Linked DNA regions of Homo sapiens: all the other regions are linked to region 6. Evidence: promoter capture Hi-C in 16 types of primary human blood cells and fetal thymus (Javierre and others, 2016). All regions are on one chromosome and are shown on one strand. The core of a region is centred on a gene start or on the middle of the fragment in contact, and the rest is flanking DNA. Distances in the headings are between cores, read along the strand shown.

Region 1 (4,760 bases), core at 2,257-4,756, 1.5 Mb before region 6:
CTGGCCAACATTGTGAAACCCCGTCTCTACTAAAAATACAAAAATTAGCTGGGCGTGGTGGTGTGCACCTGTAATCCCAGCTACTCAGGAGGCTGAAGCACAAGAATGCTGTACCCGGGAGGTGGGGGTTGTAGTGAGTCGAGATTGCACCACTGCACTCCTTCCTGGGTGACACGGTGAATGAGACTCCATCTCAATTTAAAAAAAAAAAAATCATCTGATATATAGAAACATATTGCATGGTTTGACAGCCATCTCAGAATATGTGACTAACTCTATAGCGCCTTTCAACAAGAAAGCTGTAGTGCTTTCTTAAAGTTTTTTGTTTGTTTGTTTGAAATTAAGTATTTGCAAAGTTTACTTGCCTTGTTTTCCTTCAGGTAAGACTATACTCATGAATTTGAAACAAGTCTTCATGTATGTGACCACCAAGAGACAGTGTTGCTTAGCAAAGCAGCAGCCACGACTATGCAATATTTTAGATAATATTTTTATCTCATCTCTTTCCATTCCCCTTTCATTCCAAACACCCACTTAATGGGTGTTTCACAGCTTTTTACACTTTGAACACTTGGAAGAATTGATCTCACAGAAACCTCTATACATGAAGTGTTACTAAATGGCTATTTGGAGCTCATTTTTTTAAGAAAAAAAGGATCACATACTTCCTACATACAGTTACTTTGACAAAAACAATTTTTATGTTGACTAAAGAATGAAGCTGTCTTCAAATGTTAGTTCTGCTTCGTAAACTAGCTCAATGCTGAAACTGTAAGTACCCAAAAGTTACTATGCCCCGAAGTTAAATATGTATAGCCTACTTACATTTACTTAAGAAAATCAAAGTGATTACGTCAAAATCACTACATCCAAATGGGAGATGAATGTCCAAGTGTTTTTTAAATAAGTTTATGAAGTAACATCTGTTATTTTGAACTAAATTTTGAAATGTTATTCTTGGTGAATTATTTACAAATTGGACATGGAAGAGTGAAAATTCAGTTTTCTTGAGGTGAGACAGCACATGTTATGGGAGGAGTCATAATACAGGAATTCTGGTGTTAGCTAACTTCACAGATGGAGAACAAAAGATGTCAAGAGATTTGTAAGGAATGTTCAAGACTTCAGGGTTATAACAGCCTCCAATATTACAAAAAATGAGGAGTTCTCTGTAATATTTGGGAATGGAACTATGTGGACTATTATGCAATATGCTAATTACTTTTATTACATTTTGCTTACTAGTCAAACAGCAAAGGAAAAAGCCCAAGAACTCAAAGGTACCAAGGATATACTGGACTACATTTAAAAACTGACCATGGTTAATCTTTAAAACTGACAAATGGCATGCAGGCAACAGTACATACTTTATGTACAGGCTTTGATTTGTTTTTGTTGTTTTTTGTTTTTTTTTTGATATAGGGTCTCACTGTCCCCCAAGCTGGAATGCAGTGAGTGGCATGATCTCAGCTCACTGCAACCTCCGCTTCCCAGGTTCAAGCGGTTCTCTTGCCTCAGTCTCCCAAGTAGCTGGGATTACAGGCACCCGCCACCACAGCCAGCTAATTTTTTTATTTTTAGTAGAGATGGGGTTTCACAACGTTGGCCAGGCTGGTCTCAAACTCCTGACCTCAGGTGATCCGCCCACCTCAGCCTCTCAAAGTGTTGGGATTACCAGCATGAGCCACTGCGCCCAGCCTATTGTTGTTGTTTCTTTTTTAATCTTACGGTTCACTCTTGGTGTTGCACATTCTACAGATAAATGCGTAATGATATGTGTCCACCATTACAGTATCATACAGTGTGTTTTGCTTTATGTACGGTTTTGATAAAAGACTTGCTTCAAGTTCGGGCATCTTCATCTTTAATCTTGAAAGAATCAACATCAAGTCCATCCTTCTGTGTAGATGTACTGTTTTTCACCAACCTGGTGGTGATTTCTGGTAAGGTCATTTTGATTACTACAATCTCACGCTATTTCTCATGTCTCAGAGGCTGGAAGTACTGTCATAGTAAAGTATCAGAGTTAATAAAAACTCAAAGTAGAAAATCTTCCTTTTAAGCTTTGGACAATGAATCTAATTTCCTCAGTTAAAGAAAAATATGTTTGGCCAGGTGCGGTGGCTCATGCCTGTAATCCCAAGACTTTGGGAGGCCAAGGCGGGCAGATCACCTGAGGTCGGGAGTTCAAGACCAGCCTGGCCAACATGGAGAAACCTTGTCTCTACTAAAAAAATACAAAATTAGCCAGGCGTGGTGGCGCACGCCTGTAATCCCAGCTACTCGGGAGGCTGAGGCAGGAGAATCGCTTGAACCTAGGAGGCAGAGGTTGCAGTGAGCCGAGATTGCGCCATTGCACTCTAGCCTGGGCAGAAAGAGCGAAACTCCATCTCACAAAAAAAAAAAAAAAAAGTTCACTTCCTTTAATCTGTACAACTCTAAAGAGAAATTGTTCTTAACCTTTACCTTTCAAATTTATGACCCTTTAATAGAGAATCACTCATTAAACAAATATTCTGCGCCTACTACGTAGTAACGACTACAGCATTTTCAGCAGAACTGAAAATTACTACATAGTAGTAGTCCCATACTATGGGACTATAGCATAAAACATATAAGAACCTTTCTCTGGAATTAGGCCAGGCGGAGTGGCTCACGTCTGTAATCCCAGCACTTTGGGAGGCCAAGGCGGGTGGATCACTTGAGGTGAGAAGTTCGTGACCAGCTGGCCAACATAGTGAAACCTCATCTCTACTAAAAATACAAAAATTAGCCGGGCATGGTGGCACATGACTGGAGTCCCAGCTACTCAGGAGGCTGAGGCAGGAGAATCACTTGAACCCAGGAGACAGAGGTTGCAGTGAGCCGAGATCATGCCACTGCACTCCAGTCTGGGCAACAGAGTGAGACTGTCTCGAACAAAACAAAACAAAAATAAAAGAACCTTTCTCTGGAATGCTTCTACATTGTTGGTGGTGTTAGTTCAACCATTGTGGAAGACAGTGTGGCAATACCTCAAAAACCTAGAGGCAGAAATACCATTTGACCCAGCAATCCCCTTACTGGATATATACCCAAAGGAATATAAATCATTCTATTATAACAATACATGCACGCATATGTTAACTGCAGCACTATTCACAATAGCGAAGACATGCAATCAACCTAAATGCCCATCAATGACAGACTAAAGAAAATGTGGTACATACACACCATGAAATACTATGCAGCCATAAAGAACAAGATCATGTCCTTTGCATGAACATAGATGGAGCTGGAGGCCTTTATCCTCAGCAAACTAATACAGGAACAGAAAACCAAATACCGCATGTTCTCATTTGTAAGTGGGAGGTACATGATGAGAACACATGGACACATCGGTGGTTGGGGGGACAACACACACTGGGGCCTGTCAGAGGGTTGGGGGTGGGAGGAGGAAGAGCATCAGGAAGAACAGCTGGTGAATGCTGGGCTTAATACCTGGGTGATGGGATGATGTGTGCAGCAAACCACCATGGCACACGATTACCTATGTAACAAACCTGCACATCCTGCACATGTACCCCTGAACTTAAAAGGTGGAAATAAAAAAGAACCTTTCTCTCAAGAGCTTACAGAAACTAATGAGAGATAAAATATGTACTATATATGAAAGAGCTTGACAGGTATAAATTATTATAACTAGTTTAACTATAAATTCCTTCCAAACAAGTACTTAACATCAGTAATTTAAAACCATAAACTTCTATTTGGAAATGGTAGGAATACAATGAACTGTGGAAAAAAAGAAAGAATAGCTGCCTATTTATGGTAATCTGATGCAGATCTGATTAAGAACATAATGAAATCAATGTATTTTTTCATGATCTTGGCTAGAATATTTACCCTAAGTGAGCTACTTACAAGCCTAAACTAATATTGCTTAAAAAGAAAAATTTTGGCCGGGCAGTGGCTCACGCCTGTAATCCCAGCACTTTGGGAGGCCAAGGCGGGCAGATCATGAGGTCAGAAGATCGAGACCACAGTGAAACTCTGTCTCTACTAAAAATACAAAAAATTAGCCAGGCGTGGTGGCGGGCCCCTGTAGTCCCAGCTACTCAGGAGGCTGAAGCAGGAGAATGGCATGAACCCAGGAGGCAGAGCTTGCAGTGAGCTGAGATGGTGCCACTGCACTCCAGCCTGCACAACACAGCGAGACCTCGTCTCAAAAAACAAACAAACAAACAAAAAAACAAATTTTGGCTGGGCGCCGTGGCTCACGCCTGTAATCCCCAGCACTCTGGGAGGCTGAGGTGGGCAGATCACAAGGTCAAGAAATCGATACCATCCTGACCAACATGGTGAAACCCTGTCTCTACTAAAAATACAAAAAAATTAGCTGGGTGTGGTGGCATGCACCTGTAGTCCCAGTTACTCGGTAGGCTGAGGCAGGAGAATCACTTGAACCCAGGAGGCAGAGGCTGCAGTGAGCCAAGATAGCACCACTGCACTTCAGCCTGGTGACAGACTCCATCTCAAAAATAAATAAATAAATAAATAAATAAAATTAATAACCATTAATAAAACAGAAACCCTGAAAACTTTACAAAGAGATAATGCAGTACTACAAGAGTGATGAAGACTACGCCTTACTTACTGTGAGTTTCTACACACATCACTTAAATTCTCCACGACTCAGCTTATTTGTAAAAAATGAAGGAATGACTACTCACTCCCCCTTCATAGGTAAATGTTTGTAACTGTGAATTTCCCAAATATGG
Region 2 (4,160 bases), core at 1,321-3,820, 1.9 Mb before region 6:
CGGTGGCTCACGCCTGTAATTCCAGCACTATGGGAGACCAAGGCGGGCAGATCACAAGGTCAAGAGATGGAGACCATCCTGGCCAACATAGTGAAACCCCGTCTCTACTAAAAATACAAAAATTAGCTGGGTGTGGTGGCAAATGCTTGTAGTCCCAGCTACTCAGGAGGCTGAGGCAGGAGAATCACTTGAACCCAGGAGGCGGAGGTTGCAGTGAGCCGAGATTGCGCCACTGTACTCCAGCCTGGGCAACAGAGCCAGACTCCATCTCAAAAAAAGAAAAAAAAGGCAAAAGAAGATGATGGAGCTGCTTTTAGCAGACAACCTTTTGAATGGAGATATGAACTTAAATATTTTACATTTAGAGAGGCAAAATGTTCCTAGCTGACATACAGAGGCCTAGCTGACATATAGAGCTCCTAGCTGACATACAGAGGTCCATGAGCCAGTGGCTGCCTAGCTGAGATTATTCTCAGCCCTAAATCTTTCAGCCTTTTTCTGGGATCATCCCCTTAATTCTGGTGCTGAGGATCTGTATTAGTGAGAGTGAATAAAATCAGTCATTTTGCAAACACAGCTTTTTTTGTTTTTTTTTTTTTTTTGAGATGGAGTCTTGCTCTATCTCCCAGGCTGGAGTGCAGTGGCATGATCTCAGCTCACTGCAGCCTCCGCCTCCCAGGTTCAAGTGATTCTCTGCCTCAGCCTCCGAGTAGCTGGGATTACAGATGTGTGCCATGACACCCGGCTAATTTTTGTATTTTTTAGTAGAGACAGAGTTTTGTCATGTTGGCCAGGCTGGTCTTGAACTCCTGTCCTCAAGGGATCCGCCTGCCTTGGCCTCCCAAAGTGCTGGAATTTCAGGCGTAAGCCACTGTGCCAGGCCAAAAGCAGTTTTTTAAATGCATTTTATGTCCCAGACTTCATGCTTAATCCATGAAAAACAATGACAAATCACAAACTCCTGACATCAGACTTCAAGACTAGTCTGAAAGAGTTTTTCTCAAAGGATGGTCCATGGATCACCAACTTGGGAAGCACTGAGGACCTTGTAGAAATTATGGAATTCAGGACCCTAATGTAGGTAGATCTTCAGAATAAAAATCTGTGAATGTGTGATCCAGGAATCTGCGGGGGTTTTTTTGTTTTTTGTTTTTGTTTTTGTTTTTTTTTTTGAGATGGAGTCTCACTCTGTCGCCCAGGCTGGAGTGCAATGGCATGATCTCGGCTCACTGCAACCTTTGCCTCCTGGGTTCAAGCAATTCTCCTGCCTCAGCCTCCCAAGTAGCTTGGACTACAGGCACCAGCCACCACATCCGGGTAATTTTTTGTATTTTTCGTAGAGACAGTGTTTCGCCATGTTGGCCAGGCTGGTCTCAAACTCCTGACCTCAGGTGATCCGGCCGCCTCAGCCTCCCAAAGTACTGGGATTACAGGCATGAGCCACCACACCCGGCCTAGGAATCTGCATTTTTAACAGCATTCAAGAACCTTGACACTCAAAATGCAGCATCACTTAGGAGATCATGACTGTTGGAGAGGCCCCATCCCAGACTTACTGTATCAGATTCTGCATTTTGACAGAATTCTTACCCGTTAAAGTTTGAGAAACACCATCCTAGAAGATTCTGTTCCATGTGAATTTTGAGAACCACCAATCCAATGGAAGACTGATCTGTGTAGCACAATGTAATGGGTACATTTATAAAGGAACACATGAGATCCTCTAGGAGTGCATAAAAGGAGCAGGTTCCCCTATCAGGCAAGGTTTCCAGAAGAGGTGTGATGTCATCTGCTTTTTTTTTTTTTTTGAGACAGCGTCTCGCTCTTTTGCACAGGCTGGAGTGCACTGGCTCAATATCAGCTCACTGCAACCTGCGTCTCCTGAGTCCAAACGATTCTAGTGCCTCAGCCTCCTAAGTAGCTGGGATTACAGGTCGTGTGCCACCATGCCTGGCTAATTTTCGTTTTAGTAGAGACAGGGTTTCACTATGTTGCCCAGGCTGGTCTCGAACTGCTGGCCTCAATCAATCCACCCGCCTCGACCTCCCAAAGTGCTGGGATTACAGGCGTGCACCGCCATGCTCTGCTAATTTTTGTATTTTTAGTAGAGATGAGGTTTTATCATGTTGGTCAGTCTGGTCTCGAACCGCTGGCCTCCAGCGATCCACCCGCCTTGGCCTCCCTAAGTGCGTGGATTACAGGCACGAGCTACCACACCCGGCCTTTTTTTTTTTTTTTTTTAGAGTGAAAGTTTATTAAAAAGCTTTAGAGTAGTAATGAAGGGAAGGAAAAGAAGAAAAGAACACTTGGAAGAAGACCAAGCAAGTGACTTGAGAGACCAAGCACCTGTTACCTGCTTCTTAAAGAGCAAAGAGAAATTAGCCAGCCTAAGTAAGAGGATGGGCCAGGAGTGAGAACTCTCATCAGAGGGAATCACATGTACAAAGTCCTGAGGCAAAAGAGAATACTGCAAATATTCTCTTTTGGTAATTAAAACAAAACAAAACAAAAAATGTACCTCTGGCCAGGTGAGGTGGCTCACACCTGTAATCCCAGCACTTTGGAAGGCAAGGAAGAAGGATTGCCTGAGGCCAGGAGTTCAGGATCATCCTGGGCAACACAGGGAGACCTTGCCTTTACAAAAAAAAAAAAAAGAGAAAGAAAGAAAAAAGAAGTTAGCCACGTTGTGGTGATGCGTGCCTGTAGTCCTAGCTACTCAGGAGGCTGAGTTGGGGGGATCCCTTGAACCCAGGAGTTCAGGGCTGCAGTGAGCTATGATCGTGCGACTGCACTCTGGCCGGGGCACAGAGTGAGATCCTGTCTCTAGCAAAACAGAAAAAAAAGTACCTCAAATTGCAGGGTTTAAAGAAAGCTTATTTAAACTTTGAATATCAACCAAAGGAAATTTTTTCTTAACTCAAAGCTTAAAGATTTGCTTATTAATCTTCTGGAGGGTGGGAAGGTGGGAAGAGGAATCAGAGTTTTAGATTTCTGTTTCATCCCTGACCCCTTTGACCTTTTTTTTTTTTTATCATTCCTTTGTTCATTCATTTATTCAGATATATATACATTGGGCCTGTGCTAGGTGCCTACTAGATGGTGGTGAGTGAAACTGAAATAGTGCCTGCCCTCAGGGAGTTTATAGGTGAGATGGGTGAGCGTGGGAAAACCAATAAAACTGATAAATAAGTGTGTACTTATAAAGTGAGAAAATGGCTAAGAAGTGTGCTATGATGGAAAACAGACAGGAAACTGCAAGGAAGGTCTGTCCAATCAGACCAGCATATCCCTGCAAAGCGACCACAGTCACTGCAGGTGGGATGTGGGCGGTCTTACCAGGCAGTCCTGCCCGCGTGCACACACACGCACACCCTATTTTGCTGGGAATCCGCAAGTGGGGGTGAAGACCTCACCTCAAAACCACCCCTTTTCAACCTGCGTAGGAAAGGACAGTGAAAACGGATTTTCACTGCAGCCCCAAAACCGGAAATGAGAAGCAATCTCCAGAATAGTCCCACTTTTGGAAAGAACTTATTTGAGTAATTAATTCCCTTAGACAAGGGAGCTGCTAAAAACCAGCCCGATCCTGACATGTTCTAAGTGACATTTTCCAATCGCAAACACCCATTTTGGCGTTGGGTGGAGCAGTGAGGAGACTCCACGACACACGCCATTGCTTTCACAATGTGTACAAGAGGAACTGTATATAAGAAAGCAAAGAAATAAGGAGGCCTGGCGGGTGCGGTCAGGCCTTGCCTAGCTGCCGGGTCCCTCGGGCAGGAAAGACTCGTCCTCGCGGCCTGGAACCTTGTGTGTCCGGCTCTGGCTGCCCGGGCCGCCGGCGGAAGCATTTCAGAGTGGGACCGCGAGAAGCCGCTTGTAAACAGAGCCGGGCCGGGATGGTCAGCGCCCGGGCGGGCTGTCACCGTGAGGCGGGCGGCAGGCTGCGGGAGTCAAGCCCCTCCAGGAGCGGACTGAAGGCCCCGCAGGTGAATGGAGAGTAGCAGCCGGGGCCCAGGTGAGCATCCGTCTGCTTCTGTGCTGCCTGGCCGGCCAGTTTGGGGGATGGGGTGGGGACGACTGCATTGTAAATATCCGAGCAGCTCCCAGGGATAGCAGTGATTTTGCTGTTTCTTGCATGCTCAGGTTTTTATTACGTG
Region 3 (4,714 bases), core at 1,546-4,045, 1.5 Mb before region 6:
TTACCATTAGCATTTTGGTATGTTTTGTTTCTCTCCATCTGTATTTTTAATCATAGTTGTAATTATGATTATATATATGTAAATATATATGTCTGCGTATGTGTGTTTTGTGTATCCGTATACACACACCTATACAAATGATGTTTTCACATTATGTCATAAGCATTTCTCTGCTACTGTATGATTTTCATACTCACTATTTGTAGTCACTACAAAGTGTTAGGTTGGAGAAGTTTTGCTGTTGGAGCCTGAGGGTAAGAAAATGTTAGTCTCTTCAAAATAGAATCAGTGAGTACTAGAATAGGTAGTGATTTTGAAATGTCAGGAAGAGATTAATTATTATTCTTTTTAAAGTATATTCTCTTTTTGTAACCTTAGTCATTTATTCCTGAATTTGGGGAGAACCCACCAGAAGCCTGGCGGTCCACTGTGGATGGGGCAATAAACAGGCTGGCAGGTGTCTCCGGAAGCTTACGTTCTGAGTTTAGTGGGTAGAGGTAAAGAAAGAAGATTAAAAAAAAAAAAAAAAAGCGGTGCTATGTAGATATTAATATAGGGTGATGAGACTTTCCTGTTAAAAACCAGCTGCTAATTCCTGAGTAGTTCCTGTGTTCTGAGGACTGTGCATTACACCCTTTCATTCTCACAGTCACCCTGCATGGTAAGTAGGCCTTACCTACTTATAGCGCCCTTCCAGTGGTGAAAGGGAGGCTTCTTGGAGGGTAAGTAACTTGCCTGAGGTCACAAAGCTAATGGATTGTGCTTAGAATTTGAATCCAATCTGACTCTCAAATCCTCGTTCTTAGTTTGAAAATCTCCCTGGTCTTATGGTACTTGGAACTGTAGCAGTCCCCCCTCACCTGTGATCACTTTCCCTGGCTTCAGTTACCCACTGTCAGCCTTGGTCTGAAAACAGGTGACTAGAGTATGATAAGATATTTTTTAGAGAGAGAGAGAGACCACATTCACATACCTTTTGTTGTTGTTGTTGTTTTTGAGATGGAGTCTCACTCTGTCACCCAGGCTGGAGTGCAGTGGTGCGATCTCGGCTCACTTCAATCTCTGCCCCCGCCTCCGGGTTCTAGCGATTCTCCTGCCTCAGCCCATTGAGTAGCTGGGATTACAGGCACCTGCCTCTGCACCAGGCTAATTTTTTTTTGTATTTTTAATAGAGATGGGGTTTCACCATTTTGGCCAGGCTGGTCTTGAACTCCTGACCTTGTGATCCACCCATAACTTTTATTATGGTATATTGTTATAATTATCTTGTTTTATTATTTATTGTTTATCTCTTACTGTGTATAATGTAGAAATTAAACTTTACCATAGGTATATACATATTGGAAAAAGCATCTTATATACAGGGTTTGTTACTATCTGTGGTTTCAGGCATCCACTGGGGGTCTTGGAACATATCCCTTGCAGATAAGAGGGAACTGCTGTATCCATAGAATAAAAACACCCCATCTTGAAGATAGGAGGATTCTGTAAATTGGGATGGGGTCAGGGAATCTGAATTTTAAAAGTTTCCCATGTGATTTGATGCCCAGCCAAGGCTGGGGACCACTGTCTTGAAATATAATGCTGAGGAAGATACTGTCTTTGATTTTCCTGTAATTCGAGTGCAAATCTCAGCTGAACTTATGGCTTGTGTGTTTAACTGAAAGCTGGATATCTATACCTGGCTATTTCCCAGCACCTCAAATGGTATCTGTTTAAAGCCAAACTCTTTTCTTTCTAAACTTGTTCTTCCTCCTTTATTCTGAGTTGGCATCACCTTCTAAGTAGTCACCGCCCCCACCCAACTCCTTGACTCCCCGTCTACCTCCCCTACCCCTTGGAGTCCCACTGATTCCGTCTTTTAACTATTTCCTGGATCTGTCTCTCTCTGTCCACTCCCACTGCCTGGCTTGAGCTCTCATCATCTGTCACCTGCCTGCATGATCACATCACTCTTCCACCTGGCCTGTCTGCCTCTGTTTCGTCTTTTTAAACCTATTTTCTCAATAGCTGTCAGAGTGGCCCATCTGAAATGCAAAATTGATGGCATGACCTGTGCTTGAACACTTGTTTGCCTTCCCACTGCCTGCCTGCAGGCTAAATCCCAGGCGTCTTAGTAAGGCTTTGTTATCGCATCCTGCCTGACTCTTCAGCCTCACTTTTTCTCAGCAAGATTGGAGTGCATGAAGTTCCTGGGACACACATCCTGCTCTGGCCTGTCCCATCTGCCTTGGATGCCCTTTCTTCACACCTTTTCCTTGGTTCATGCCTCATCTTTTAAGCGTAAGCTCAGATTTCCCTTCCTTTGGGATTTTTTCTTTGACCTCTGCTCCTCTTGAAGAATTTCTCCTTTGTGACCTCATGATTTCCTGCGCACACTCATGTTTCTATTATTTTTCTTCCCACACTGCATCACAACTGTGTTTATGTGTCTCTCCCACATGAGACTTTTGAGCTGTGGGTAAGGACTTTCTTCCTCATCTTTGTATCTCTAGCACATAGTATGTGCTCGAATGTTTGCATAAATAAGGTGTTATAAAACTAAAACGAAAACTGATGACACATGTTTATACATTCTTTTCCCATTACTAATGGACAGCATACTGTGTTGTCCTATTGGGTCAGTCTCCACTAGTCTTTTCTGAACTAAATACTGTCTCACCCTCCTTACCCAGCATAAATCTCACAGGCAGTCATTTTATCACCATCTTCATGTACGGTTGACACCGACTCCCTGCCTTTCCTTGCTTCAAAACAAGCCAGGTTAACTGCAGCCTTCCACTGTCCCTGGTCTGTGCCTCTGTGGCTGAGTGGGGCTGAAGGAAATGCTGCTGCTGGATTTCACTCTATTTTTTCTTTTGAGATGGGAGTTTCGCTCTTGTCGCCCAGGCTGGAGTGCAGTAGGGCGATCTTCACTGCAACCTCTGCCTCCCGGGTTCAAGCGATTCTCCTGCCTCAGCCTCTTGAGTAGCTGGGATTACAGGCGCCTGCCACCACGCCTGGCTAATTTTTTGTAATTTTAGTAGAGACAGGGTTTCATCATGTTGGCCAGGCTGGTCTCGAACTCCTGACCTCAGGTGATCCACCCGCCTTGGCCTCCCAAAGTGCTGAGATTACAGGCGTGAGTCACCGCACCCAGCCGGATATTCTGTTTTTTTAAAAAACGTCTTACTGCCTATCTCTCACTTGAATGTAAGTTGTATGAGGGGAGAGGTTTCTGTTCCATGGCTGATGGTAGTCATTCAGATATGTGTGGAATTACAGGGGGTGGTCAACTGACATTAAGATCCTATTCAGACTTCTGGAATACCTACCAGGTTAGAAGTAGCCTTTGAAATGCCTGGGACAGGCATTAGAGAAGGCCTTTATCTATGAGCTGGTAAAATGAATACTGAGGTGATGTGCAGATGACTCAGTCACTCCAATATTGCCTGCAGAGTGCTCTGTGTACTGTTAAGAAATTCAGAGATACAGTTCTAACTCAAACCTTGGAAAAGGCTGTCTGCATTTTTTTTTTTTTAAAAGAGATAGGGTCTCGCTCTGTTGCCCAGGCTGGAGTGCAGTGGCATGACCATGGCTCATTGCTCACATGACAAAATACCAAAAATAGGGAAAGCCTGTATCGTGAGGTTAAAATTTTAAAAAAGAATAATAGGGCTGAGTACAGTAGCTCACGCCTGTAATCCCAGCACTTTGGGAGGCCAAGACGGGTGGATTGCTTGAGCCCAGGGGTTGGAGGCCAGCCTGGACAACATGGCAAAACCCTCTCTGTATGTTTGGGAAAAAAAAAACAATCATAGAAGAGAGACATTGGCTATTAAGAAATCCCAGTCCACCTCTCCTTAGGCTGTTATGAAGCAGCCAATCTATATGTGTTTATGTAATACATATATAATCACTGAAAAATTACTGAATTGTATGACAGTAATGTAAGTGAAAATACTTGTTCTTTAAGTGGTAAGTTAAAGTTGTTCTTTTCTTTTCTTTTCTTTTCTTTTTTTTTTTTTTTTAGACGGAGTCTCACTCTGTTGCCAGGCTGGAGTGCAGTGGTATGATCTCGGCTCACTGCAACCTCCACCTCCTAGGTTCAAGCAATTTTCCTGCCTCAGCCTCCTGAGTAGCTGGGACTACAGGCACGCGCCACCATGCCCAGCTAATTTTTGTAGTTTTAGTAGAGACGGGGTTTCACCATGTTGGCCAGGATAGTCTCGATCTCTTGACCTTATGATCCACCTGCCTCGGCCTCCCAAAGTGCTGGGATTACAGGCGTGAGCCACCACGCCTGGCCTAAAGTTGTTCTTTTAAGTGCAGCCTTGACCTCCTGGGCTCCAGTGATCCTCCCACCTCAGCCTCCTGAATAGTGCCACCACGCCTGGCTAATTTTTTTATTTTTTTGTGGAGATGGGATCTCTCTATGTTGTCAGGGCTGGTCTTGAACTTCTGGGCTCAAGTGATGCTCCTGCCTCGACCTCCCAAAGTGCTTGGATTACAGGTTGAGCTACTCGGCCTGGCTGTCTGCAATTTTTATTTTCAGAAAAGATGAAAACTGTCATTGAAATCTATCCATTGGGCAACACACTGTCTAGCAACGAATGGTCAAAGTGGTAGGTTCAGGCTTGTAAAATCTAACAACTTGAGCATTTTCATCAGTATCTCATAGTAGGACTGTAAATGTCAAATTGAATTACTGCCCTAACTTATGTGTCAAGATAAG
Region 4 (4,678 bases), core at 1,058-3,557, 1.4 Mb before region 6:
TTCTTTTTCCCATAGCACTTATCAGTATAACATACTACAACATTTATTTATGTATTGTAGTTTATTATCTATCTTTCCTTAGAAGGGTAGGCATCTTTGATTTGTTCAGTAATGATTCCTAAGTGCCTAGAACCATGTCTCATTGGCATTCATTCAATACTTGTTGAGTTGTACTGAATTGTGATAAATCCTATGAGCAATGTCAGCACAAGGTGCTATGGGAGTATATAGAAATGACCCCACACAGATCAGGTTAAGAAAGACTGTGAAGGAGTTGAGGCCTCCCCTGAACTTTACTTTTTTGGAGATGAAGTCTTGCTATGTTGCCCAGGCTGGGGTACAGTGTCTGTTCACATGTGTGATCATAGCATACAACAGCCTTGAACTCCTGGCCTCAAGCAATCCTCCCCACCTTAGCCTCCCAAGTAGGTGAGACTACAGGCGCACCTCAGCTCTCAGCAGAACTTTTTTTTTTTTTTTTGAGTTGGAGTCTCGCTCTGTCGCCCAGGCTGGAATGCAGTCGTGCGATCTCGGCTCTCTGCAAGCTCTGCCTCCTGGGGTCACGCCATTCTCCTGCCTCAGCCTCCTGAGTAACTGGGACTACAGATGCCTGCCACCATGCCCGGCTAATTTTTTGTATTTTTAGTAGAGACGGGGTTTCACTGTGTTAGCCAGGATGGTCTCCATCTCCTGACCTCGTGATCTGCCTGCCTCAGCCTCCCAAAGTGCTGGGATTACAGGTGTGAGCCACCGCACCCAGCCTCTCTGCAGAACTTTTAAAGATAAATAGAGTGAGGCAGATGAAGGAACCACGAGAAGCAATGAAATCATAGATGCAAAGTGCTCCATTGGTGTCTTAGTCGGCTTGAACTGTTATGACAAAATACCATAGACTGGGTGGTTTAAATGACAAACATTTATTTCTCATAGTTCTGGAAGCTGGGAAGTCCAAGATCAAGGCATCTCTCTCTGTGGGTGAACACCCACTTCCTGGCTTGCAGATGGCCATCTTCTCATCTTCTTGTCATGTCCTCACATGGTGAAGAGAGACCTAGAGACATCTCTGGGATCTCTTATAAGAGCACTAACCCATTCATGAAAGCTCTACCCTCCTGATTTAATCACCTCCCAAAGCCCCACCTCCTAATATCATCATATTGTGGATGAGGATTTCAATATATGAATTTTGTGAGATCACAAACATTTGGTCCATTGCACTTGGGTATTGTTTCAGGTGGCTATTTGGATTGAATATTACCAATTGATTCCAATTCAGAGTATAGAAATCAAACCTCATGGGTAATGCACTTTGTAGAATACTTCTTCAGCAAAGCTTATATCTGCCTGAATTGTACCATGTTATCATAGTGAGCACTCATAACATTTCATGGTCAAATTGCATTGGCCGGGAGTTTCAGTCTGAACAGCCAAGGTGCCAAATCTTTGTTTTGGTCAACAGGGTAGCCAATAATAAAAACACTAAGCCAAAATCATAGTTAAGGTTTACAGTGAATATCTTTGGAAAGTAATGCAATGACTTAGAGATTTTTCTCATTTGAGATGTTCTTTTACCAGGGATATATTCGGAGATAGAGCCTTCACTATAAGTACAAGACACAAACCCACTCTTAAATCAGCTTTGTAACATATGATGTATGATTTATGTGTTCTTAACACTTTGTGCCATCTGGTGGCTTCATATTTAAGTAATTTTTCTTGATAATTAGATATCAAGCTTAGTTGTTTCTACCTGTTAGAGAAATATATGTGTTGTCAACATGTAAATATAACACATTTCAGAACAGAAAATTCTTGAAAATGTTTGCTTGTGCCCTTTAAATTTTAGTGGGCTGATACAAAGCCTCCTTGCTCTCCCAATTTTAACTCTGCTCATAGAATTGCCTAAACTCAGTCCCTTACTGGCACACAATAAGCAATACACATTATGTTAAATAATTGAATCAAATAGATTTTGATCCAGAAGAAACATATAGCATAAGCCTAAAGGACTTTAGGGAACATAACTTAATGTACATTTTGGATTTGTAAAATAGGGCTCATCATAGTTATCTATCTCAGTCTCTATGAGAATTAATACAGGCAATATGAGTTGATATATGTAACAGTCTTTGGCACACGTCTTTTATTAATAGACTTTATTTTTAAGGAAAGTTTTTTTTTTCTTTTTTTTGAGATGGAGTCTCACTCTGTCATCCCGGCTGGAGCAGTGGCAAGATCTCAGCTCACTGCAATCTCCACCTCCCAGGTTCAAGTGATTCTCCTGCCTTAGCCTCCTGAGTAGCTGGGATTATAGGCACCTGCCACCACGCCTGGCTAATTTTTGTATTTTTAGTAGAGACAGGCTTTCACCATGTTGCCCAGGCTGGTCTTGAACTCCTGACCTCCAGTGATCCACCCACCCTGGCCTCCCAAAGTGCTGGGATTACAGGTGTGAGCCACCGCACCCAGCCCTAAGGAAAGTTTTGGACTTGCAGAAAAAGCAAGCAGATAATATAGAGAGTTCCCATGTAACCTCCCCACCCCACCCTACCCAAAGTTTCCTCTATTGCTGACATCTGACATTAGTATGGTACATTTGTTATAATTAATGAAGCAATATTGATAGAGTATTGTTTTGAACTAAAGTCCATAGTTTATTGAGAGTTTCTTAGTTTTTGCCTAGTGTCCTTTTCTGTTCCAGAATCCATCCCAGGATACTGTGTTATATTTAGTTGTCATGTCTCCTTAGGCTCCCTTGGCTGTGTCAGTTTCTCAGACTTTCCTATTTCTGATGACCTTGACAGTTTGAGGAGGACTGGTCAGGTATATTGTAGGTTGCTCCTGTATTGGAATTTGTCTTTGGCACATTTTAAAGCTTCTAAAAGTGTTTGTTACTGATATTATTGCTTCATATTCAGATTAAATGTGGAACAAAGCTAGGATATGGGCAGGGGATAGTTTTGTTGAAAATTTAGTATTTAAAAGATTTATTTTGAAGCATAGTCAATTTATCAGTGCCAAAAACGGACAAAATTTGGTTTGCCTACATCCATCCTTCCATCTTCCATTCAGTAAATATTGTGAGGATAGTGTGTATTAGATGCTGGGGATTCAATAATAAAGAAAATGTAACTGCTTTCATAGAGCTTCCAGACCAATAGGAAGAGAGTCAAACAACTAAAGAAATAATCTGCAAGATAACTTGTGACAATAAAGAAAATATTCTTATATTAAAGAACATCTTAGTAGGTGAGGGGAAAGGGGACTAACTTTATTAAGATCATGCATTAGGATATTATAGAGATAGAAAACAGAATAACAGGCTTAAACAAGGTAGAAATTTTCTGTTCAGGAAATCAGGGAGTCAGTTCAGAGCTAATATGGCAGCTCCACAGTGCCAGGGTCCCATACCCCTTCCACTTTGTTGCTCTGCTGTGCGTGGATTAATTTCTCAGCATCATCTCTTGTCTAAGACTATTTCTGGGGATCCAGCTATCACATCTGAATTCCAGCCATCATGAAGCAGGAGGAGTCAGAGAAGATAACTCCCCTTTTCACATTTCTGTTTACTTTTTGCTGTTTTGACAGAACTTTTTATTTTACTTTTTGTTGTTTCTGTTTTGACAGAACTTAGTCAAGGGGCCTTATGCAGCCACCTTACCTAGTCTCTTTGTCCAGGTGGCCATGTTTACCAGCTAAACATCAGAGGTTTTATTGCTATACTGGTTCTCACGCTATGGCGTGCATCGGAATCACCGGCAAGACTTGTTGAAATACAGATGACTGGCCCTCATCCCCAGTTTTTCATTCAGTAGGAGAATAAGAATTTGCATTTCTGACAAGTATCTATGTGATGCTGATAATGCTGGTCCAGGACCACATTTTGAGACCCATTGCTGTAAAAAGGGAGCATGGCCAGATACAGTGGCTCACACCTGTAATCCCGGCACTTTGGGAGGCTGAGGTAGGAGGATGACTTGAGCCCAGGAGTTTGAGACCAGCCTAGGCAACATAGCAAGACCCCCATCTCTACAAATAATAATTTTAAAAAATTATCATGCGTCTGTGGTCCCAGCTACTCAGGAGGCTGAGGCAGGAAGATCACCTGAGCTCAGGAGGCTGAGGCTGCAGTAAGGCTTGATTGCACTGCCACACTCCAGTGACAGAGTAAGACCCTCAGGTGACAGAGTAAGACCCTGTTAAAAAAAAAATGAAAGAAAGGAAAAAAAAAAAAAAGCAAGCATGGATATTGAGGGAACACTCTCTGATTTGGACCATGATATGGACTTTGATCATTTACATTTTTTGTACTGAGACAGACTATGCTTTCTTTTTTTTTCTTTTTTTATTTTTTAGATGGAGTTTCACTCTTGCTGCCCAGGCTGGAGTGCAGTGGTGCAATCTTGGCTCATTGCAACCTCCGTCCCCTGGGTTCAAGCGACTGTCATGTCTCAGCCTCTCGAGTAGCTGGGATTACAGGCACCCGCCACCATACTCGGCTAATTTTTGTATTATTATTATTTTTTTTAAGTAGAGATGGGGTTTCACCATGTTGGCCAGGCTGGTCTCGAACTGGTGACCTCGTGATCCACCGCCTCGGCTTCCCAAAGTGCCGGGAGTACAGACATGAGCCACCGCGCACGGCAAGACAGACTGTGCTTTCTTAGATCAGGTATCT
Region 5 (4,438 bases), core at 1,660-4,159, 1.6 Mb before region 6:
GTTGCCCAGGCTGGAGTGCCATGGCGCAATCTTGGCTCACTACAACCTCCGCCTCCCAGGTTCAAGTGATTCTCCTGCCTCAGCCTCCCAAGTGGCTGGGATTACAGGCATGCAGCACCACACCCAGCTAATTTTGTATTTTTAGTAGAGATGGGGTTTCACCATGTTGGTCATGCTGGTCTTGAACTCCTGACCTCAGGTGATCCGCCCACCTCAGCATCCCAAAGTGCTGGAATATCAGGCATGAGCCACCGTGCCCAGCCTCTAAGCTTTATTTGAATACAAATAAATAATATGTACATGATTTTAAAGTGAAACAACGCTACCCAGGAGGCTTTTGTAATTTGCTTTCTTCACTTGACAATATACCTTGAACATCTTTCTCTGTCATTACTTTTTTGTGGAGTGATTTGTAATGGCTTCCTATGTGTTCATCCATTCCTGAACATTTATCGAGGGCCTGTTACTGTCCAGGCAGGGAGCTAGGTACTGGAGATACATCAGTTCATAAAGAAGTTGGCACTCTGGGGTTGACATTTAAGTAGAAGGAGACCTTCAAAAAAACTAAATGAGGCCGGGTGCGGTGGCTCATGCCTGTAATCCCAGCACTTCGCGAGCCCGAGGTGGGTGGATCACTTGAGGTCGGGAGTTCAAGACCAGCCTGACCAACATGGAGAAACCCCGTTTCTACTAAAAATACAAAATTAGCTGGGTGTGGTGGCACATGCCTGTAATCCCAGCTACTCGGGAGGCTGAGGCAAGAGAATCGCTTGAACCCGGGAGGCGAAGGTTGCTGTGAGCAGAGATCACACCATTGCACTTCAGCCTGGGCAACAAGAGCAAAACTCTGTCTCAAAAAAAAAAAAAAAACAACCCAAAAACAAAAACAAAATTAGCCGGGCATGGTGGAGCATACCTGTAATCCCAGCTACTTGGAAGGCTGAGGCAGGAGAATCCCTTGAACCCGGGAGGCGGAGGTTCAGTGAGCCAAGATTGCACCATTGCCCATTGCACTCAAGCCTGGGCAACAAGAGTGCAACTCTATCTCAAAAAAAAAAAAAAAAAAGAAAAAAAAGAAAAGAAAAACTGAATGAATAAATATATTCGGTTAATAAGGGCACTATTTTATAAAGAATGGTTGGGGAGTCTTCTCCAATCAATAAGGGGCTGTTATAATCTGAATTTTGCCTCCCCCTCTACCCCCCAAAATTTACATGTTGAAGTCCTAACTCCCAGTACCTCAGAACGTGACCATATTTGGAGACAGGATTTTTCAGAGGTAATACAGTTAAAATGGTATCATTAGGGCAGTTCCTAATTCAGTAATGGTGTGTGGTGTCCCTATAAGAAGAGGAAGGTGGCTGGGTGCGGTGGCTCATGCCTGTAATCCCAACACTTTGGGAGGCCGAGGTGGGTGAATCACGAGGTCAGGAGATCGAGACCATCCTGGCTAACACGGTGAAACCTCGTCTCTATTAAAAGCACAAAAAATTAGCCGGGCGCAGTGGCGGGCGCTTGTAGTCCCAGCTACTCGGGAGGCTGAGGCAGGAGAATGGCATGAACCCAGGAGGTGGAGCTTGCAGTGAGCCGAGATCGTGCCACTGCGCTGTAGCCTGGGTGACAGAGTGAAACTCTGTCTCAAAGAAAAAAAAAAAAAGAAGAGGAAGTTTGTGCCAGGCTTGGTGGCTCATGCCTGTAATCCCAGCACTTTGGGAGGCCTAGGCGGGAGAATCACAAGGTCAGGAGTTTGAGACCAGCCTGGCCAACATGGTGAAAACCTGTCTCTGCTAAAAATACAAAAAATTAGCTGGGTGTGGTGGCAGGTGCATCTAATCCCAGCTACTTGGGAGGGTGAGGGAGGAGAATCGCTTGAACCCAGGAGGCACAGGTTGCAGTGAGCCGAGATCGCACCATTGCACTCCAGCCTGGGTGACAGTGCAAGACTCTCTCTCAAAAAAAAAAAAAAAGAAAAAAAGAAGAAGAAGAAGAGGAAGTTTGGACATAGTCATATGGAGGGAAGGCAGTGTGAAGACACAGGGAGGGAATGGTCATCTACAAGCCAAGGAGAGAGGCCCGGAACAGATCCCTTCCTCACGGCCCTCAGAAGAACCCAATCCTGCCAGCACCTTGATGGCAGACTTCTAGCTTCCAGAACTGTGAGAAAATAAATTTGTTTTTTAAGTCACCCATCTGTGGTACTCTGTTATGGCAGCCCAAGCAGACTAACAAGGGGCATAGAAAGCAGCCTGGATGAAGTGAGAGGGTACAAGCTCTATGGGTATCTGGGGAACAGCCCAAAAGTGGAGCCCTAGAGGAAAGCCAAGGGCCCAGGTGCCTGGAAGAGGGGTTGGAGGAGAATGGAAGATGTGGTTAGAAGAGGCAGCAAGGTACCACTAGGTCCTAAAGTGCCTGCAGGCTTTAGAAAGGACTTTAGAGTGTATTCTGGGGGAAATGGGAAGCCACTGGAGAGCCACTGAACCTGACGTATTTTATAGGGGCTCCTTGGCTCCTGCATGAAGCCCAGACTACGTATATCAAAAAGTTTGTAACCTTCATATTAATTATTTAGTAGCACAGTTTGAAGGTTTGGGGCAAGACAGAAAGAAGCGCTTCTAAGGCATTGACCCCAAGTCCAAATCCCTCTTTGTACCCCTGCTATCCCACTTGGCCATCCTACTTCCCAATCTGATAAACTGGATAAGCCATCATTTGAAACCAGCCTGATTTTTTCATGAGTCCTCTCTGCAGGGTGATTCAATGGGACCTCTCTTCCCCTCTTTAAAGTCAACTGGTTGCTCTTCCTTTCCCTTCCTACTTCTGTTCCCTGTCCCTGTGTTGCACACCAGGCTCCTCATCCTCAAGCCTTTCTGGCTCCCTGGTTAGCAACTGCCATCTGCCAGGATTCCAGCGCTCATTCACTCTCCCCTCCCCAACCCCAACTCCCACATTCCTGGCTTCCCCTTAGGGAATGCAGAAATGTAACCCTCCTCTGATATCTGCAAACAAAATTTCAGGGAAGTGGACAATTTTTGCCAGTCAGGTTTGGGAGAAAAGTCATGAGTGCTCTGCCCAGTTTGGAAATGTCCATCAACTCAGTGGTAATGGCTTTGTGGGAAATAACACAGCTCAGAGTTGGACCAAACTTTGACCAGCATGCTCCTCTTGGGAGACTTTGAGATAAGTCTCAAGACCCCTTTTATGATACTCAGGGGTCTTCTCTTACGGAAGGAGCCTGCATCAATAGCTTCCTTTAAGGATGTGTGATGGTTAATATTGAGTGTCAACTTGATTGGATTGGAGGATGCAAAGTATTGTTCCTGGGTGTGTCTGTGAGGGTGTTGCCAAAGGAGATTAACGTTTGAGTCAGTGGGCTGGGAGAGGCAGACAAACCCTCAATTTGTGTGGGCACCATCTAATCAGCTGCCAGCATAAAAGCAGGCACGGAAAGAGCAGACTGGCTGAGTCTTTTAGCTTCCATCTTTCTCCCGTGCTGGATGCTTCTTGCCTTTGAATATCAGACTCTGAGTCCTTCAGCTTTTGGACTCTTGGACTTACACCAGTGGTTTGCCAGGGGCTCTCGGGCTTTCGGCTACAGACTGAAGGCTGCATTATTGGCTTCCCTACTTTTGAGGTTTTGGGACTTGGAGTGGCTTCCTGGCTCCTCAGCTTGCAGACAGCCAATTATGGGACTTCACCTTGTGATCATGTGAGTCAATTCTCCTAATAAACTCCCCTTCACATATTCATTTATCCTATTAGTCGTGTCCCTTTAGAGAACCCTGACTAATACAGGGTGTATGTACTTTTTTTGCTTCCTTCTGCTCAAAGTCTCTCCACATCCTCCCCCAAACTGCCCACCCCAAGGCCAATCAACTCCATCTACATACACTTGTCCTTCCACTCCAGGCTGCTTTTGACAGTTATTCAACAAAAACAAGGGATCAAACTCAGGGCACGTGAATTGGAAAAAATAACAATAAAAAACAAAAAATGCCATTAGTAAGAGCCCAGGTTCTTGGGCCCATCTGCTCACTTGACCACAGAAGAAAGGTGACACTAAAAAGACAGGTAGGGGCTGGATGCGGTGACTCACACCTGTAATCCTAGCACTCATGCCCGTAATCCCAGCACTTCGGGAGGCCGAGGTGGGCGAATCATGAGGTCAGGAGATCGAGACCATCCTGGCCAACATGGTGAAACCCTGTCTCCACTAAAATATAAAAAATTAAGCCAGGCATGGTGGTGCGTGCCTGTAGTCCCAGCTACTCGGGAGGCTGAGGCAGGGGAATTGCTCGAACCTGGGAGGCAGAGGTTGCAGTGAGCCGAGATTGCACCACTGCACTCCAGCCTGGCGACAGAACAAGACTCTGTCTCAAAAAAAAAAGATAGGTAGGGCTGGGCACGGTGGCCCACACCTGTAATGCCAGCACTTGGAGAG
Region 6 (4,537 bases), core at 520-3,019:
CCCCGTCTCTACTAAAAATAGAAAAAATTAGCCGGGCGTGGTGGCGGGCGCCTGTAGTCCCAGCTACTCGGGAGGCTGAGGCAGGAGAATGGCGTGAACCCAGGAGGCGGAGCTTGCAGTGAGCTGAGATCGGGCCACTGCACTCCAGCCTGGGCGAAAGAGCAAGACTCCGTCTCAAAAAAAAAAAAAAAAAAAAAAAGAAAATCCAGAATATTTAGGTAAGTACTATATTCAAAGTTATATGATAAAGATAAGGTTCAGCTAGAAACTAATAAATATCCGATATATGCATTACATGAACTCACTTTTAAATCAGGACAATTTCTAAATTTGGAAGTTATTTCTAAATGTTGTGTAATAAATTTTACAAAGAAATTAAATATTCTACTGATTCAGGGCACTAATATAACAAATTCATTCCTGCCAGGTTAGTCAACATGTGTTAGAAAAATAACTTTTAATACAAGATTTAAATCATCATCCCCAGTAGAACATACAAAGATAGTCGGTTCTTTTTCTATTATTTTTCTCTTTCTTCACAAAAATAGAAAAATGTCTCTGCAATTTATCCTCCAATAAGCGTTCTATTGGAATCGATGTAAATGGGTACCCTTTGTCCCTCTCACCTCTGTGCTAACAGCATTGTTTAACTCTGATCCCATTTATCTAGTAAGCTTTGCTCATTTAAAAAAGTAAATTCATGACATCCACTGCAATATACAAAAAGTCTATCATACAGGCTGGCAGCACATTGGAAGTTCTGAACTAACATAACTAACAAAAATAGCCACATTTCTCAATTCTGTGACACAAAAAGCAGATAGCAACATGTGTAATGCACCAAAGATCTAGCTAGAGTTTAAAGAATCTAAATAAATAAAAAAATTAAATGCCCGGATATAATTCTTAATAAGCTATTTTACCTCAAGAAAAATCTAAGGCTGTCTTTAAAATCTCTTTCCAGTTTTACTGTATCCTTTCTGTATGGGCAGCATAACAGAATTTCCAGAAACAGGGGCCGTTTTTAAATCCCCAGTGATAGCTGCCTTTATCTGCACTGTGGAAAATGACACACTGTATCATGCCTTTCTGGACAGTCCATAGGTTTTATTTACATTGCTTTGAGAAACAGACGAAAGACATGTTTTTTTACAATTGTCTTACAGCAATCTGTTCTGAGAGTAACATGTAACACAAATTTTTATATGCAATATATGAAAACATAAATATTTATATATACAATAACATAACCAGACAAATAAATGAAGTTACTATTAAGTCTCTTTAAGTATAAATTTACAAACTGACCACCAGCCACAGAACTTAGCCCTGTAATGGAGAAAAATTATTACTGGCTTAAAAAAATATTAAAATATCACTGTCACTAACATGAAAAAAATTAAAAACAGAAAATAAAAAACAATAACCACCGGAAAACCTGTGTCTTGTAAAGATTTCTTTCCATCAGAAGATGCAGAAACATTTTTCCCCCTGGAGCAAATGAAAACGTTTCTCATGCACCCCCCGTTTCTTCCCTGCTTTCTCCCCCAGGCGCGGGTGTAGACGGCCGGTGTGGACTTTTTTCCAGAGATGAGAAGTAAAAATTTGTACTTTATCGGGAGCGGGTGCACTTTTCCCCCTGGCCCCCCTTTGCTCTGCCTCCAAGATGGTAGGAAAGTTGTCGTTTCGGAGGGCAGAGGAGCAGCTCTCTGGTGTTATGTCCTCGCAGTGCCTGTAGTGGTGCTGTAGGAGGCTGCTGCCTCTTCTTGTACAGCCCCGGCAGCCCTGCCTTCTTGGCTGGAGAGTATATTCAGGGATTTCCCCTTAATAATCACCGACCCTGGGAGCACTTTTTAGTTTCCAAAATAAAAATATGATCCTCACCCCTCTTGCTTGACAGGGAAAGGCTCTCGCCGGAGCCCAGGGGGGAGCAGTAGCAGCGGCAGCCGAGCTTCCTAGTCCATTGCCAGCGCCTCTCACTCTGATCTGTCAGCCCAGCCGAGGGAACAGGGGGGAAGGAGAAAAAAAAAAGCAGCTGAAAGGTAAGCAGAGGCGGCCCCAGGCCCGGCCCACATCCCCGGGCTCCCGTAGGGCGGCGGGCTGGGCCGCGCAGGCTGGGCGGGCGGCGAGCGCGCTTACGTGAGGCCGGGGATTCGCCGGCCCACGCCAGGCCCCGGGCGGAGAATGAAAGGGTGAGTGGGGCCGGCGCCCGGGTGGTGGAGGCCGGGGGCCTGAGGGCCTCCGGGGCGCCCGCGGGCGGCGACGGCGGGCGGGCAGGGGTCCAGCCGGAGCCGGAGTGGGGCGAGCGGAGCGGCCTGCGCGGGCCAGGTGGGGGTGTGCGGCGGGAGGGGGGGGCGCCGGTAGGCCTCGGGCCGGTAGGCCCCACGGCAGCCGCGCCCTGCCCCCGCACCCCGGGCCTCCGCGCGCCCCCTCGAGTCCCCCGGGGTCTCCGGGTGGGACGGCGGCGCTGCTGGGCCGAATCCCGCGCCGGCCCGGAGGCTTTCCCGCGGGGCGGCAGGCCCGGGCTGCCGGGACAGGGGCGTCAGGGCCTAGGAGTGGGGAGTGGGGAATGGGCGCCCGGCTCCCCTTCCCCCGGGTCTCTCGCAGACGGCCCCCAGATTCCGGTAAGAGTTGAATTTATTTATCCCCCTCCTCCGCGCTCCGGACGGCCAGGCCGGGGCGGGGCGGGGCGGGCGGCCTGGCGGGCGTGGGGTCGGGTGGAGGGGCGGTGAGGAGTCAGGTGCAGCCGCGGCCCAGAAAGTTTCCTTTTAGGCCCGAACTGGGGGCCGCTGTCTCTCCGGGGAGCCCTGGTCCTAGCGCCCGGGACCCCCCAGGGCGTGGGGGAGCGCACTCGGCTATTTTGAAACTCTTTGCCAGTTCCTGTCCATTGAAGAAGGTACTCCGCCCCTGCACCCCTCGCCCGCGCCCCACCCAACTCCCCGCGAGCCCATTCGGGGCTGCTAACTCCAGCCCCTTCCCCCTAGAGCCCCCCAGGTTGGGGAGAGGGCCTTCTCTTCCGGTTTGGAAAAGTTTGCAAGGGGCTTTTCTTAGCTTTATTAGTTAGTGACTGGGTTTTTGGGGTGGGAAGGAGGAGGTAAACTCAGGTGGTGTTTCTGCCGGACAATCTTTCCCTATTGCCTTTTTTAGCCCTTACCCCACCAACTGGGGGTGTTATTTTCAGCTTGAGTACCCACCCCCTTTCATCCCGATTCCTTTGGGTCCAAAATCCCCCTTCTGGACAGCTCCGGCGGAGAGGAAGATGTAGGGAGCAGCGAGGAGACTGTCAGTGAGAGGGGCAGGATCAGGCAGGGTTTCTGGAGCAGTCCCCAGATGTAGGAGTTTCCCCTCCTTTTTGGTCACTGTCCGGTAAAACCAACACCGGAACAGATCCCAAGGGGGAGACGTGGTTGTCAGATGGCTTGGAAGCCTCCGGGATTGGGAGGAGGGAGAGGAAGTGGGCAGGGCAGCTCCCGAAACAAGGTCTACAGTTTAAGGATCAGTAGTTCATTTATTCTGATAATCACTGTTTAGTTTTATGTGACATTCTTGTATTCGACCTAGAAATAGAGTAATGGAGATTTTAAGGAAACCTAAACTTGTTATTGCTACAACTCAGAAGGGTCTGTGGAAGAGCCCTCGGAACCTAGCAAAACTACTTTGGTTTTGGGGTGTGTGTGTGTGTGTGTGTGTGTGTGTGTGTGTATGTATAACATTTAAACGAAAAAAAAATATATGTGTATGTATATATTTTATATGCATATATAAACACATATATATTCATACACACACACGTATGTTTTCTGTTTAAATGGATTCAATTTTAGCTATATTTTGGTGCCCTGAGCTCTGAACGTTAAAAAAAAAAAAAGTGATAAACATAAATTTCCAAATCTCGATTTTCTGCTTTTCAGGGACAGGATGTTTCCCGTGGCTATGCTTACCTCCTTGTTGTTCTTGAGTGTTGACATTGAAATGTTAATAGACCCTGCCACCCCCCACTGCCAGTCCCCAGTGTGGGCGTGTTTGGAGAGGTTATTTTGCATCGTTTAATTGTTGGTTTTTTCCTTTTTTTTTTTTTTTTTGGTGAGCTTAGGGCAGAGTGTTGTGTTTATGTGCGGTGTCCTGCTTGGTAGCAGGCTGGAGTTGCTGGCAGGAGATGTCCCACATTCTGCCCACTCAGTACCCCCAGCACTGTTGTTAGTGAAAAGCTACCACTTGCAGGGCAATGGGTCACCCACGACTTTCAGTGCTGACTTCCGTGAGGCTTCGAAATGAGACTCATGTGATTCTTCTAGGTGTGTGCCTTTCTTTTCCTTTCGTCTGCCTAAGATCAAACTCTGTTTCTCCACAATGATAGATATCCGGTCATTTAGCATTGAGCTTAAGAAAATCTTGATATTTGAGATTGTATGGATCTGATACAAAAATGCAAATTACATTTAATGGTTGTTTTAAGTTTATTGATTAATTGAAATTGTTTATTGACATGGACATTTTTTTAAACATGTGTACCAAAAATCGTTACTTCTATTATAGT

The links. The method cuts DNA at HindIII sites, captures the fragments that hold promoters and counts their contacts. A CHiCAGO score of 5 or more calls a contact.
Region 1: a contact is called between a fragment that was not itself captured here and the fragment with the promoter of INO80D in region 6, in 1 of 17 cell types (neutrophils). The highest score is 7.3, in neutrophils.
Region 2: a fragment that was not itself captured here is called in contact with the fragment with the promoter of INO80D in region 6 in 2 of 17 cell types (total CD8 T cells and total CD4 T cells); the score reaches 8.8 in total CD8 T cells.
Region 3: a contact is called between a fragment that was not itself captured here and the fragment with the promoter of INO80D in region 6, in 1 of 17 cell types (neutrophils). The highest score is 5.2, in neutrophils.
Region 4: a fragment that was not itself captured here is called in contact with the fragment with the promoter of INO80D in region 6 in 1 of 17 cell types (naive B cells); the score reaches 5.5 in naive B cells.
Region 5: a contact is called between a fragment that was not itself captured here and the fragment with the promoter of INO80D in region 6, in 2 of 17 cell types (neutrophils and monocytes). The highest score is 6.6, in neutrophils.

What each region holds. Positions count from the first base shown.
Region 1 is chr2:207,543,384-207,548,143 of GRCh38, reverse strand. The region is part of intron 1 of CREB1 (cAMP responsive element binding protein 1); the gene reads right to left. Among named protein-coding and RNA genes, the nearest start is that of CREB1, 16 kb to the right of the region's middle. The HindIII fragment of the contact is 2,882 bases long and covers 2,066-4,760 here.
Region 2 is chr2:208,025,247-208,029,406 of GRCh38, reverse strand. It overlaps PLEKHM3 (pleckstrin homology domain containing M3), which reads left to right and starts at 3,880. Exons shown (of 8, transcript NM_001080475.3): 1 at 3,880-4,018. The HindIII fragment of the contact is 609 bases long and covers 2,266-2,874 here.
Region 3 is chr2:207,614,990-207,619,703 of GRCh38, reverse strand. All of the region lies in intron 3 of METTL21A (methyltransferase 21A, HSPA lysine), which reads left to right. Among named protein-coding and RNA genes, the nearest start is that of METTL21A, 8.0 kb to the left of the region's middle. The HindIII fragment of the contact is 4,645 bases long and covers 473-4,714 here.
Region 4 is chr2:207,507,352-207,512,029 of GRCh38, reverse strand. No RefSeq gene overlaps it. Among named protein-coding and RNA genes, the nearest start is that of CREB1, 20 kb to the left of the region's middle. The HindIII fragment of the contact is 1,140 bases long and covers 1,738-2,877 here.
Region 5 is chr2:207,696,104-207,700,541 of GRCh38, reverse strand. No RefSeq gene overlaps it. Among named protein-coding and RNA genes, the nearest start is that of CCNYL1, 13 kb to the left of the region's middle. The HindIII fragment of the contact is 5,275 bases long and covers 272-4,438 here.
Region 6 is chr2:206,083,406-206,087,942 of GRCh38, reverse strand. INO80D (INO80 complex subunit D) reads left to right here and starts at 1,769. Exons shown (of 11, transcript NM_017759.5): 1 at 1,769-2,042. It overlaps INO80D-AS1 (INO80D antisense RNA 1), which reads right to left and starts at 3,288. Exons shown (of 2, transcript NR_186084.1): 1 at 3,195-3,288; 2 at 439-1,986. RefSeq lists enhancers at 1,513-1,622, 1,633-1,682, 1,187-2,006, 1,733-2,022, 3,651-4,472 and silencers at 2,073-2,282, 2,363-2,532, 2,553-2,752, 2,793-2,842, 2,744-3,038. The HindIII fragment of the contact is 4,007 bases long and covers 677-4,537 here.